Linked DNA regions of Homo sapiens: regions 2, 3 and 4 are each linked to region 1. The links are contacts of gene promoters, found by promoter capture Hi-C in blood cells and fetal thymus (Javierre and others, 2016). All regions are on one chromosome and are shown on one strand. Each heading gives the region's core, a stretch centred on a gene start or on the middle of the fragment in contact. The rest is flanking DNA. Distances are from core to core; before and after follow the strand shown. Region 1 holds the start of NSUN6 (NOP2/Sun RNA methyltransferase 6). Region 2 holds the start of IDI1 (isopentenyl-diphosphate delta isomerase 1). Region 3 holds the start of CREM (cAMP responsive element modulator). Region 4 overlaps LOC105376392 (a long non-coding RNA gene).

Region 1 (3,243 bases), core at 413-2,912:
AGTATTTGAGTGCCCATTATGGATTAGGCTTGGGTACATAGTGGTGTGATAAAGTCTCTATCCTTGTGGAGTTTAAAATGTAGTTCAACTTGTTTCTCCTCCTTTATCGCTAAAATACAGATTCTAGCCATCAGTGGTGCTATGGTCACCATGAAATTCAGGCTACAGAAATTCCTTTGGAAATGTCTGATTTAGACATTTATCACTTTCAGATGTTTTAGCCATGAAAGAATCTCATGGATTTATTGAAGAAATATGCTATGGTCAAGGACAAGGTATTGGCTCTAGAAGCCAAATTACTAGTCTTTATCCTGGCTTTTTATTTGTGAGAACATGGAGAGTTGTTTCAACCCTAGGAACCTTGATTTACTCTTTAAAACAGAGAAAATGGGCTGGGCGTGGTGGCTCACGCCTGTAATCCCAGCACTTTGGGAGGCTAGAGAGTCAGATCAGTTGAAGTCAGGAGTTTGAGACCAGCCTGGCCAGCATGGTGAAACCCCGTCTCTATTAAAATTACAAAGATTAGCTGGGCCTGGTGGCACATGCCTGTAATTTTAGCTACTCGGGAGGCCAAGGCAGGAGAATCTCTTGAACCAGGAGGTGGAGGTTGCAGTGAGTCGAGATCCCACCATTCCACTCCAGTCTGGGCGACAGAGACTCAAAAAAAAAAAAAAAAAAAGAGCAGAGAAAATGATAAACAACTTGCAGGTTGTTGTGTGGTATAATGGTCATTCATTATTTTCTACTCTTTCTGGTAAAGAGTTGGTGTGTCATGGAAAGTACCTGTTCTATGTGTGTGTGTCTGTGTGTATAATTCGGTGTGAAAATTAAAGAGAAAAAAACAATAAAAAACCCTTTCCTATACTTATGTGTAAATTACCATGGTGTGCTGCAAAAAACATATGTCAAGGTGATAGAATTATTTTGACTTTCCTGTACAGTTATAAAATGACTCAGTGAGTTTGGTTAGATATCCTCGTTCTTTGAATCTATATCCTTGTCTGCTTATGATGAAAAAAAAGAAAAAAAAATAATGGCGAGGGTCTTCCAAACTCTAAAGAATATGTCAACTATGATACAAGTAGCAGTTAGCCTTATAACTAACTGTAAACACTGTCTGTGGGTTTTAAGTTTTACCTGAGCATTGGATATTAACAGACCATTAGCCCAACTTTCAAAAATATGAACCCTATGAACTTCACAACTGAAGTCAGATCTGTATGCCTGAGAGAGGTAAAATCATGTCATGAAATCAAACGGTGGCTGATGCGCCCAAATTCTGGCCTCATCCTCTAACTGGAGGACATCTGGCAGGACAGCAACTGGGCTGTGCCTTTTTTCAGTCCAGCAACATCTTCCACTCAACCCACGCCATTTGGCTGTTTCCCCATTGCCCCTGGCACCTAGCCCTCCGGTACCGGGAACTAAATATCTTTGACCATCCCGCCCGCGGGGTCTGCCTACTTAACCTGAGGCAGGTGAAAGAGCCTCACGCAGGGTTAGGAACCTCCGGGGGCGTGGCGTAGCGTAACGCAGTGTTGGGGAAACTTGCGGCTGTGGATTGGGGGACCGGAAAGGGAGGGGTGGGCCGCAGGCGCCGGACGTGACGTAAGCCGGAAGCGACTTTCCGCCGAGAAATAGGGGGCGCGTGTTTGGAAATTGATAGAAAAGATAAAGGGACCGAGCTGCTGTCAGCCTGGCTTACTGATCTGCGTCCGTTTCACCACGGATTCAGTTACTAAGCATTTTTTTCTTTTTTTGGTTCTTTGCAACGTGAGTGGCATTGGCTCAGTGATTTCCATGAGCATCTCTACCAGAAAACATTGCCTCGATGAGGTGTGGTGGAAGCCCGGCAGCCCCTTCTAATCGGCTAGGCTTGAGAAAGCGTGTACCTCTGCATTTCCGAAATTAACTCAGCGTGATCGGCAAGATTTTCCTCAGCATCTGGTGTCAAGACACTCGTCACTATTAATTCGGAAAGAAAAAAAAAAACAAAACACCGTTTTCCAGCATTTCTCTTGGTGGAGAACTAAACAACAGGAAAAATGTCTATTTTCCCTAAGATATCTTTGAGACCTGAGGTTGAAAACTATCTTAAGGAAGGCTTTATGAATAAGGAGGTAGGTCAAGTAAAGATGTTAGTTGATATTTTGCAAAAACTCAAATATTCGCACACTCGAGAGAAATAGAAATAAGTATAAAGGGAAATCTTGACAGCCGTCGTTCCTTACTACTTGTCTATCAAGTGTAAAAATACCAATATGTTTCTACAGGTATTAAAGCTTACTGAGATACGAAGTGAATAAGGTATATGTTTTAACATTTAGGAGTGGAAAAGAAGGGAAAAAAGGCATGTGCCTGTCAGGCATGGCACAAAGGGTTACAAGGATGAACAAGAAAAGGTCCCTGTCTTCAAGAACTCGAATCGAATTTTAAAAGAGCGCTGGCTCTGGCACTCAGGTGAAAAGGTTTCTGTAATTTGTTGAGTGCCTCTTAAATGCCAGCAGTTGTGCTAGGAGATTTGCATCTTTAATCTTCACAATCTTTTTTTTCTTAGAGGTTTTTCCTCTTTTAATAGACTTGAGCAGAAAACTGCTCAAGGAATTGTGTAACTGATCCAAGTTGACACAGCTATCAAGTAACTATTGAAATCTGGAGGGAAAGAGTTCAGGTGTAATGAACAAAGGTACAGCTTTTGAATCTCAGGCACATGATTTGCATTCTAGTGCTTTGTAAATTACGTGGCTTAACCTAGATTTTTCTCTTCTGTGAAAAATTGAGAATGGTTAAAAATATCTTGCCAGGTTGTTTTAGGATATTAAACGTAAGTGAATACAACTAGCATTGTTTTGGCATGTAAGTCCTCAAAAAATGTTAATTTTATTTGCTAAAGTCCTCAGTAAATGTTGATTATCTTTGATTGCAAAGCCTGTTGTCTATTCCATTTTACCATGCTGCCTCTAAGCAACTTTGTTTTTTTTCAAATCTTTAATTTTTTAGTCAAGTTAAAAATATTTTACCAGGTTGTTTTAGGATATTAAACGTAAATGAAAACAACTTGCATTGTTTTGGCATGTAAGTCTTCAAAAAATGTTAATTTTGTTTGCAATTGGCAGTGCCTGCCACAGAAGTCCTCAGTAAATGTTGATTGTCTTTTATTGCAAAGCCTGTCCTCTCTACCACTTTACCATGTTGCCTCTAAGCAACTTTGTTTTTTTTGAAATCTTTAGTTTTCTTAGTTAG
Region 2 (3,243 bases), core at 320-2,819, about 18 Mb after region 1:
GAATGGCGTCCTGTCCAGGGCTGGTTCCCTCTTTGTGCCCTGAGCTACTGAAACAGGCTTCAGCTACACATGACCCAGAACTGGAATAATTAAGTAATAATTATCTTTTTATTCATCTTTCTTAAATGTATGTATAGCTCACATTTATTTCAATGTTTAATATTAGAATACTTTGGCCTTTAGAAGCTTAGTGATTTTTTTTTTCCTTGGCCAGAAGTATGCTTTAGGAACTTAATCCTTATTTTTTAGCCTCTGGTAAAATTGGTTTTGCTATACGTTGTTTCACTTAAAAGTCCTGATTCCCAAGAACGCACTGACAGCAGTGAGGACTTGCTGCGCATGCGGGAGGCCAGATTTTCTTATCTGTGTGAAGCCAGACATGAAAGAGATCTGTCAACACATAAAACAAAATCAAAGTCTGTTTTTTGTCTGGAAAAGATTTTTAATAAAAATATAACTTATGTTAGTGTCGTGTGTTTTTTAAGTGAATATTTTAATATGTTTAATTTCTATGTTAGTAAATAGCAGTAGTAAACAACAGTGAGCAAAAGCTTTTAGGTGTCCTCAGTACATTTTAAGAGAGTGCAAGCGTCCTGTGACCAAGAAGTTTGAGAACTGGTGCCCACCAGGTTCATCTCACAAGTTCAGTATTTTAAATTCCACACAAAAGGTAGAGGAAATAGCTGAATTCGCTTCAGCTGCGCATACATTTCACGATTATTTAAAAGTTTAGAGGGCTAGGCGCGGTGGCTCACACCCGGAATCTCAGCACTTCGGTAAGCTGAGCCAGGTGGATCACTTGAGGTCAGGAGTTCCAGACCAGCCTGACCAACATGCGGAAACCCGTCTCTACTAAAAATACGAAATAAGCCGGGCGTGGTGGCGCATGCCTGTAATTCCAGCTACTTGGGAGGCTGAGACGGGACAATTGCCTGAACCCGGGCGGCGGAGGTTGCTGTGAGCGGAGACTGCACCATTGCACTCAAGCCTGGGCAACAAGAATGAAACTGTCTCAAAAAAAAAAAATTTAGAACGTAGTCATGTACCTCGAAAGCGAACACTCCCAACATAGCGTGGAACACCCCACACCCCCGGCGACTTTGCTCCGCCTTGGTCCCGGTCGCAGACACCGCAGAAAGGCCATCGTTCTAGACATACGAGAACTCCCCGTGCAGCCAAACGCTGTAGTCCCAGCGGCGGAACTCGGGGGGGGGGAGGGGGGGGAGTGCCCAACCAGCCAGTCAGCAGTGACGTCCCGCCTTTCCTCCGTTTCCATTGGTCCAGCCATGCGGAGGTCGCTCCCATGGGACGCCGAGCTTCCGGCTGCAGGGCTTGGCGCCCGGGCGCTTTCGGATTGGGAGGGCTTCCTCCATGGAACGCGAGCCTCGAGACGTCTGACGTTAGGCACCGTTCGCAGCGCCTCGGGCTCGCACGGCAGGATCGAAAGCGTGATTGGCTGGCGGCGTCTGTGGTCTCGGGCACCGCCCAGTCGCGGGACGCTGCCTCTGCGGAACTGGGGGTGGGGCGTGTTGACCCCCTTAAAGGCGCCAGAGCCCGCGGTCACGGCTCAGGTTCCCGGTGCTTCGCGCGTCTGCCGTTGTCACAGGCCAGGGAGGTGGCACCACCAGGCGAAGCTTGGCGAGATTGTGTCGTCAAGCGCGTACGGGCGCCAATTGGCCGGGCGATGTGGCGTGGACTGGCGCTGGCGCGAGCGATTGGCTGCGCGGCCCGGGGGCGGGGCCAGTGGGCGGTGCGCGCCGCAGACTGTGCTCAAAGCGGGCGCCATCCGGGACCGGCGGTTGTCTGTGGCCGGAGGCTGATCAGGTACTGTGGACGGGCGGCGGAGTTCGGGAGACAGGGGCAGGGCGGCATCGGGGAGCTGCGGGACGGGGCGGGGAGGAGGCCCGAGGTCTGAGCCACCCGTGAGGTCTCGGCGCGGAGGCCTGGACAGCTGGGGGTGGCGGCGTTGGTCTCCCGAACTGGAGGGAGGCCGGGCCTTCCCGGGCTGTGGTGGGCGCCCGCGCCCCGTGGAAGGCGGAGGCGTGAGTCGGGGCGTCAGAGACGTTGCCATTCTTTGTCAGCGGAAAAGATCGTCGTCTGCGCACAGTCACCTGAGGTTTAGGAACTCGTGGAACTGGAAACCGAGTCGCAGGAGACTAAGAGTTGCGAGTCTCCCCTTAGAGAATTCAGAAACAAGCGTAGACAGCATCGTCAGAAACACGAGCGTGACGACACCGGCCTCCCCGTGCCGAGTCCACGCGTGTGACGCGGGTGCATACACCTGCGTCCGTGCAAGAGGGTGACAGCAACACACTCAAGGCGCTTCTCCTGGGAATGGAGCAGGAGAAGAGATGGGGAGCATCGCATAGATGGAACTAGACCTTTTTCTTGGGTTGGATGATGTGTTCCCGCGTCTACTACATGGTATTCTTTAAACGCATAAATAGACGTATTCATTTTATCTTGTGATTATGCAGCTTAGCTTTAAAATCTGAATTCTGAAAATCCTGAAAGAGCAATTGTCATTACAGCTGGGCGGTGGTGCACGCCTTTAATCCCAGCACTTTGGGAGGCGGAGTCGAAGGCTGCAGTGAGCCGAGATCGCGCCACTGCACTCCAGCTTGGGCGACAGACATAGCAAGACCCAGCCCCATCCCCCCGGAAAAAAAGTCATGTCAAAAAGTCTAGTAATTATGTAGTAACGAAACCTATCTTAGTGATCACCTAATATACAGTTGGCCTACTGTATCCTTGGGGTCCATATCCATGGATTTAACCAACTGCACATTATAAAATATTTGGAAAAAAATTTCATCTGTACTGAACATATACAGACTTATTCTGTAAACAATACAGCACAACTATTTATGTAGGATTTACATGTTTTAGATACTATAAGAGATCATCTACAGATGATAATTTAACGTTCGGCCCGCATCACTTAACAGGGATACTTTGGAGAAGTTCATTGTTAGGTACTTTCATCATTGTGGAAGCAGAGTGCGCTGACGCAGACCTAGACAGTGGAGCAGCTGGGCTGTGTGGTGTAGACAGACGGTGGAGCAGCTGGGCTGTGTGGTGTAGACAGTGGAGCAGCTGGGCTGTGTGGTGTAGACAAAGGACCAGACAGTGGAGCAGCTGGGCTGTGTGGTGTAGACAGTGGAGCAGCTGGGCTGTGTGGTGTAGACAGTAGACAGTGGAGCAGCTGGGCTGTGTGGTGTAGACAGTGGAGCAGCTGGGCTG
Region 3 (3,243 bases), core at 393-2,892, about 16 Mb before region 1:
AAAACAACAAATAAAAAACAGCGTGGTTTATTCATGTAATCTGATGCAATGTTCACAGCGGACCTCTCACTGTTCAATCTAGATCTTTGTTTCAAGGGAAAGGTACACCCTCATCTGCCCGGCAAATTAAGTAGAAAGGAAACTGAGTCACGTACGTAAGCCACAGTGTTAAAGGAGCTCTTTCAATTTCAGTGACACTTTGAGACTGGCCCTGTAAGTCCCAATTTCTTAAAATGTGATTACAAACTCACCGCTGCTTCACTGAGCAGCATGCAGGAAACCCCTAAGTGATTTCAAACTCAGGTATCTGATATACAAATAAAACGCAACAGGATCAAGAAACATGCTGAGGCCAGGCGCGGCGGCTCACGCCTGTAATCCCAGCACTTTGGGAGGCCGAGGTGGGTGGAAGGTCAGGAGTTCGAGACCAGCCTGACCAACATGGTAAAACCCCATCTCTACTAAAAATACAAAAATTAGCAGGCGTGGTGGCGCATGCCTGTAATCCCAGCTACTCGGGAGGCTGAGGCAAGAGAATCGCTTGAACCCAGGAGGCAGAGGCTGCAGTGAGCCGAGATCATGCCCCTGCATTCCAGCCTGGGTAACAGCAAGACTCCGTCTCAAAAAAAAAAAGTATGTTTAATAATGTGTTTATTCCCCAGATTCAACAGGCTCTGGAAACCTTACCAGATGGCCCTAAAAAGGCAAGACTCAGGCAGAAGGGAAAATGCGCCTTCCGAGAGCGGTCGCGGCTCTGCCCTTCCCACTCCGGAGACTGCCCGCGCCCGGGACCGAATGACTCAGCTGCGAGGCCCTCCGGCCCAGGTTTTGGGGGAAAACGGGCTGCGTCCGCTTTCGTCTAAACTGCGCTCGTAAAGTGGGGCAGAGGCGCTGGGGGCACTCAAATCCGAGGTCCTTACTTCTGGATTCCTTTTCCTTTTCCGAGTTAAACCGCTCCCCTGAGCCGCACGGCTCTCTCAGGGAGGATTTTCCAACTCGTCCCAAGTTCGCGAGGAGGCAGGCGGGTCCCGGGGCAGCTGAGCGCACGAAGCGGGCGTGGGGCGGCGAGCCGGCGGCCTCGGGGGCGCCGAGCGAGGGGCCGCGTCAGGTGAACTCGCGGCTGCCCCGCCAGTCCTTGGCCCGGCCCCGGGGTCCCGGCCCGCCGCCCACGGCTCCGCTCGGCCTCTGCTGCTCCACCGCACCCGGCTCCGCTCCGCCTCCTGCCTCCACCTCCACCTCCTGCGCCGCGTCGCCCGCTGCTGGGTCTCGGGGCCGGAGCCGACGCACCACTTACCCGCCGCAAAGGGATTTACGTAGCGGACCTCGTCACTGATTACGGACGCGAGGAGGTGGAGACGGCGAGCCCGACCGCCGCTCAGCAGCGGCGCCGCCGCCCAGCAACCCGGAGCCGGCAGCGGCCCCACGTAGTCCTCACGTCAGCTGTGATGCGGTAGCCGCGGCCTCCCTGCCGACCCCGGACCAAAAGTAGCGCTGCAGCCGACCGAACCGCGTCCTCCCGCCCCGTCCTCCCCTCCCCCACGCCGGGACGGCCTCCCGGGGGAGGCCCCGAGGAAAAAAATCCAGGCTCGAACTCCGCCCCCTGCCGGCCGCCAGCAGGAGTGAAGCGCCACAATCCAACAATGAAATGGAACCGGGGAGGGGCGGCGGGAAGGTGCGGGTCAGGGGGCGGGGCCTAGGGATAGGGAGAAGGAAGGTCAGGGGGCGGGGCCAAGAGGAGGAACTAGCCTGGAGGTGGGGCGGAAGGTAGGGGCGGGGGCAAGGCTGGAAACCGGAAGCTGCCCGTGCCGCGCCGCGCGTGCGCCAGAAATCCAATGACTTGTCAGCCAGAGTAACGGCTGTTGTCAGGTCTTCAGGGTCTCGAGGTCGGTTTCTTCCTAACGCCGCCAACCCCAAGCTAAGGTCCGCGAGCGTCTCACCTCTGTCCAGGCTGGGCTGCAGTGGCGTGGTCTCGGCTCTCTGCAACCTCTATCTCCCCAGGCTCAAGCGATCCTCCGGCCTCAGCCTCCTGAGTAGCTGGGACTGCAGGCGTGCTTCTTCTGACTTCTAAAAGCTATCTACATACCTTGACTAGTGGCCCTTTTCCTCCATATTCACAGCCAGTCACAGCTGGTTGAGTCCTTCTCCAAAAGAAGCTTGAGCTCCTGAGACAATTCACCTGCTTCTTAGGGTCATTTATTGCAGTTTATCCCAGTATTTGACTGGAAATGGTCCGCATGCTGGGCCCGCTGGCTCGGGCCTGTAATCCCAACACTTCGGGAGGCCAAGGTGGGAGGATCGCTTGAGCCCAGGAGACCAGCCTAGGGAACACAGTGAGACTTCATCTCTTTTTTTTTTTTTAGATTAGAAAGGTCGGCCGGGGGCTCACGCCTGTAATCCCAGCATTTTGGGAGGCAGACATGGGCAGATCACCTGAGGTCAGGAGCAGCCTGGCCAACATGGTGAAACCCCATCTCTACTAAAAATACAAAAATTAGCTAGGAGTGGTGGCAGACGCCTGTAGTCCCAGCTAGTTGGGAGGCTGAGGCAGGAGAATCGCTTGAACCTGGGAGGTCAAGGCTGCAGTGAGCTGAGATCGTTCCACTGCACTCCAGTCTGGGTGACAGAGCGAGGCTCCATCTCAAAAATAAAAAAAGTAATGGGATATCAGGAATAAAGAATAGCAGCATGGTTATAGAGTACAGTAGGTCCTCACTTAACGATAGGTTCTTAGAAATCATGGCTTTAAGCCAAACAACTTACAGCAGGTCCACAAAAAAATTTTCATTCAGTGTTGTTTTCATTTCGTTATAATATTGATGATAACAAAAATCGGTTTCATTGTACGTTGTTTCACTGAAAACCAGTTTCTAAGAAGCTATTGACAATGTTAAGTGAGGATTTATTATTTCATATCAGTTACTGTAGTGTCAGAGTGTTTTCATAATTTTCACTGAGCAGGACTTAATCTAAATCCAATCTGAACCTTTGTTCAAATCTAATTTTCGTAGGTCAAAGGGAATGTATCCACAACAATTGTCTCTGTAACAGGAGTTCATATGAATCAAAAAGAATCAAAGGAATGGCAATTTCTTATTTGCAAAGTATTTGCTCTACGGTTTCCTTTCTTGCCAGTATTTTACTCCCATATGTATGTAGTCTTAATTATAAAGTTCAGAAAGCACAAACCATATTTTTTTGTTCATCTGTTTTTTTACAAAGATCAATACTGGAGGTGAGATACAC
Region 4 (3,243 bases), core at 369-2,868, about 11 Mb after region 1:
CCTGGCTTCAATATCAAAGATTTGACTTATCCTGCAATGTCTTTGCCTTTTATTACTTTTTTTGTTTGTTTGCTTGTTTTGTTGAGACAGAGTCTTGCTCTGTCACCCAAGCTGGAGTGAAGTGGTACGATCTCAGCTCACTGCAACCTCTGCCTCGCAGGTTCAAGTGATTCTCCTGCCTCAGCCTCCCAAAAAGCTGGGATTACAGGCATGCACCATCATGCCTGGTCACAGCTCACTGCAGCCTCGACCTCCCAGGTTCAAGCAATCTTTCTACCTCAGGCTCCTGAGTAGCTGGGACCACAGGCACATGTCACCATGCCTGGCTCATTTTTGTCTTTTTTGTAGAGATGGGTTTTGCTATGTGGCCGAGGCTAGTCTCAAACCGCTGGGCTCAAGCAATTTGCCCACCTCGGCCTCCCAAACTGCTGGGATTACAGGCATGAGCCACTACGCCTGGCAGCTTTTGTCTGCTTTTACAGTGTTCTCTTTTCATAGGATTCACCTCAGTGATTTCATCATTAGCTGTGTAAAGATGACTCCTTAATATAACACTTTATCTTGGATTGTTCCTGAGTGCTATACTAGCGTAGCTAACTGCATCTAATGACTAATGTCTGCTTGGATGTCCAATATATCACTCAAATGTAATTAATGTTTGAGGGATGTCCGAAACTAAAATCATTCCATTCTTTGCTGTATACTTTGCGGGGGTAGAGGCAGGATCTGTGTTCGTCTCATTCACTAGTAAATAGTACCTAGCAGTTAGTCATATTTCAGTAATGCCTTTTAGCACAATTCATCTTGCAATGATATAGAGAGTGGATTAGAGCACAACTCTGAATATATGAAAAACCACTGAGTGGTAGAATTTAGAAGGGTGAATTTCATGGCATGTGGATGATGTCTCAGTGAAGCCACTCTTTGAAGAGAGTAACTAGAAGTGAACAGTGGAGGCCAGGAATCAGGAACCTGTTCAAGAGCAGGAGTGGCAGAAATGGAGAGCAGCTGCTTCTTTAGCAGTGAGACTGCACACAGCTTAGCGGGGCATGAGATCTGTAGAACGAAATTTCTTCCTGAGATCAGAGCTCAGACTCATCCAAGAGGCCTGATCCTTATCATTCTGTCTTGGTGGACAAGGAAAAGAACCAAGAGCAATGTGGGAAAGGCGAGTACTGGGGCGTAGCGGTCAATGCTGACGAGGGTTACAGTTGAGGACCAGTGAGCCCAACTTCAGCCAACGGCAGCACTTTTTCTTCAGTTGGTGCCAGGAGCTCAGTGACTGCACAGTTCTTAAGCTTCATTTAGAGAGTTTTGAATAATGATAATAAAATTTCTGAAAGCTTCAACTATTCTATATTAAAGCACACAGAGAAACAGTTTCCTAAAGGGCACATTATAGACAACAGTTGTAATGATGGAAACTCAATCCTAGAATATTAAAATTAACAGACCTAGCCCTTTAGGTACTGTGTAGGTGTTTGCAGAAAATAGGATAGCCAGGAGCAGTGGCTCACTCCTGTAATCCCAGCACTTCAGGAGGCCGAGCCAGGCAGATCACTGAGGCCAGGAGTTCGAGACCAGCCTGGGCAACATGGCAAAACCCTGTCTCTACTAAAAATACAAAAATCAGCCAGGCATGGTGTAGTCCCAGTTACTTGGGAGGCTGAGGTGGGAGGATGGCTTGAGCCCAGGAGGTGAAGTTTGCAGTAAGTCAAGATCCTGCCACTGCACTCCAGCCTGGGCGATAAGAGCCAGACCTCATCTCAAAAAAAAAAGCAGTTTGAATTATGTAATAAACCTTACCAGTGGTCATTTATCACTGTAATTCCACTGTGTTATGCCACTTAGCAAAAGGAGAGGACAGAAGTTGGGGGAAAATTTCAAGCTTACTCTTTGATTCCTTCCTACATGTCTAAACCACACAGCATGGTACACTCACCTTTCCAGATTTATCTTGCCTTTCTCGTTCTCTGTATTAGCAGTTTTCAGAATGTGCATTTGAACAGATTTTGGTCTTTGCTTTTTCTGCTTCCTTGGCCTGAAATGCCTTCCCTCCCCACCAGTTAGCTCTAGTAGTTTAATTTCTACTGTTGGTCACTGGTCCTTGAGGACTGTTTAGACCTCCCTTCCTCCAAGCTGGACGGCCTTCTCAGTCCCCTTCATCTGTCCCCAAATTGAGTCACTGTCCCTCTTGTGGCTCACCAATTGTAACTTACCACATTCTGTCATTTGCTTGTGTTCCCTCCAGACTGTAAGCTCCTGCAAGGAGGCGTTTTGTTATTGTATCCTCAGAGAGTCAGAGTGCCAGTACACAGAAGAGCACCACTAAAGGCTACAGGGAGCTGATGATTAATTTTACATAGAGCAGACATTTAACCAAGAATATAGCACTTACTCCCTGTCAGATTCTCGATATTTTAAAATATTAGCTCATTTAATCCTAACAATCTTTTAATCTCCATCTTATAGATCATAAAACTGAAAGATTAAGTAACTTGCCCAAGGTCACAGCTGTTAAGGGCTGAGCTAGTATTCCAGTTCAGACACAGATTATTCTTACTTATGTTGACTGATTTCAAATTCCTGCTTTTCCTCCTTCCATGATGTCTAGGACACTCAAATCACCCTCACAAATGTGTTCTGCTCTCCTAGAAACTGGAGGTGGGTCAAGCCAAGCTTAGAAGCAAAATACAAAACAGGATGGGCATGGTGGCTCACACCTGTAATTCCAGCACTTTGCAGGGCTAAGGAGGATCACTTGAGCCCAGGAGTTCAAGACCAGACTGGGCAAAATAGCAAGACCCCATCTCTAAAAAAAAAATTTTTTTTTAAATTAGCCAGGTATAGTGGCGTGCACACACACACACACACATACACACAGCCTCCAGAGGCACGTGGTTCGTTGCTAACATTCCCAAAAGGTATCTTGTACTGGTTCACACTACACCTCCATCTGATTCCTCAGTTGTGAGCTGTTTCTTTCTCCTAGTCTCAGCCACCAACCCCTTCAGAAGTGGCTCCTGAAAACTTTGAGGGGAGTTAGAAAATGACTTTGAAGCTCTGGTCAGTTCACTGAACCTTTTTATTCATTACCACGAATATAGCTGTAAATATTTAAAGAATCCATTCTAAATACATGCATTCATTTGTTTTTAAAAGAGGAGCTTGTTAAGAATGGGTTTTATATTGTTTATAATTTTATGTATTTTGGAATTTATATATTACTTTTGTAATTAAAAA

Evidence for each region. Contacts are between HindIII fragments. The CHiCAGO score rates a contact against its expected background, and 5 or more counts as called.
Region 2: the fragment with the promoter of IDI1 here is called in contact with the fragment with the promoter of NSUN6 in region 1 in 1 of 17 cell types (fetal thymus); the score reaches 5.8 in fetal thymus.
Region 3: a contact is called between the fragment with the promoter of CREM here and the fragment with the promoter of NSUN6 in region 1, in 3 of 17 cell types (naive B cells, activated CD4 T cells and total CD4 T cells). The highest score is 6.8, in naive B cells.
Region 4: a contact is called between a fragment that was not itself captured here and the fragment with the promoter of NSUN6 in region 1, in 1 of 17 cell types (total B cells). The highest score is 5.7, in total B cells.

Annotation. Positions count from the first base shown.
Region 1 is chr10:18,650,006-18,653,248 of GRCh38, reverse strand. NSUN6 (NOP2/Sun RNA methyltransferase 6) reads left to right here and starts at 1,662. Exons shown (of 11, transcript NM_182543.5): 1 at 1,662-2,120. The coding sequence starts at 2,046. RefSeq lists an enhancer at 1,423-1,522. The HindIII fragment of the contact is 3,002 bases long and covers 1-2,284 here.
Region 2 is chr10:1,047,445-1,050,687 of GRCh38, reverse strand. It overlaps IDI1 (isopentenyl-diphosphate delta isomerase 1), which reads left to right and starts at 1,569. Exons shown (of 5, transcript NM_004508.4): 1 at 1,569-1,824. The coding sequence starts at 1,685. RefSeq lists enhancers at 921-1,060, 732-1,261, 1,521-1,570, 1,262-1,791, 1,792-2,322 and silencers at 1,661-1,880, 1,891-1,980. The HindIII fragment of the contact is 1,083 bases long and covers 554-1,636 here.
Region 3 is chr10:35,125,245-35,128,487 of GRCh38, reverse strand. It overlaps CREM (cAMP responsive element modulator), which reads right to left and starts at 1,642. Exons shown (of 8, transcript NM_183011.2): 1 at 1,295-1,642. It also overlaps a transcript of CUL2 not described here. RefSeq lists an enhancer at 605-674 and silencers at 1,035-1,174, 1,235-1,754. The HindIII fragment of the contact is 8,974 bases long and covers 1-2,155 here.
Region 4 is chr10:7,808,581-7,811,823 of GRCh38, reverse strand. All of the region lies in intron 1 of LOC105376392 (a long non-coding RNA gene), which reads left to right. Among named protein-coding and RNA genes, the nearest start is that of TAF3, 8.3 kb to the left of the region's middle. The HindIII fragment of the contact is 545 bases long and covers 1,346-1,890 here.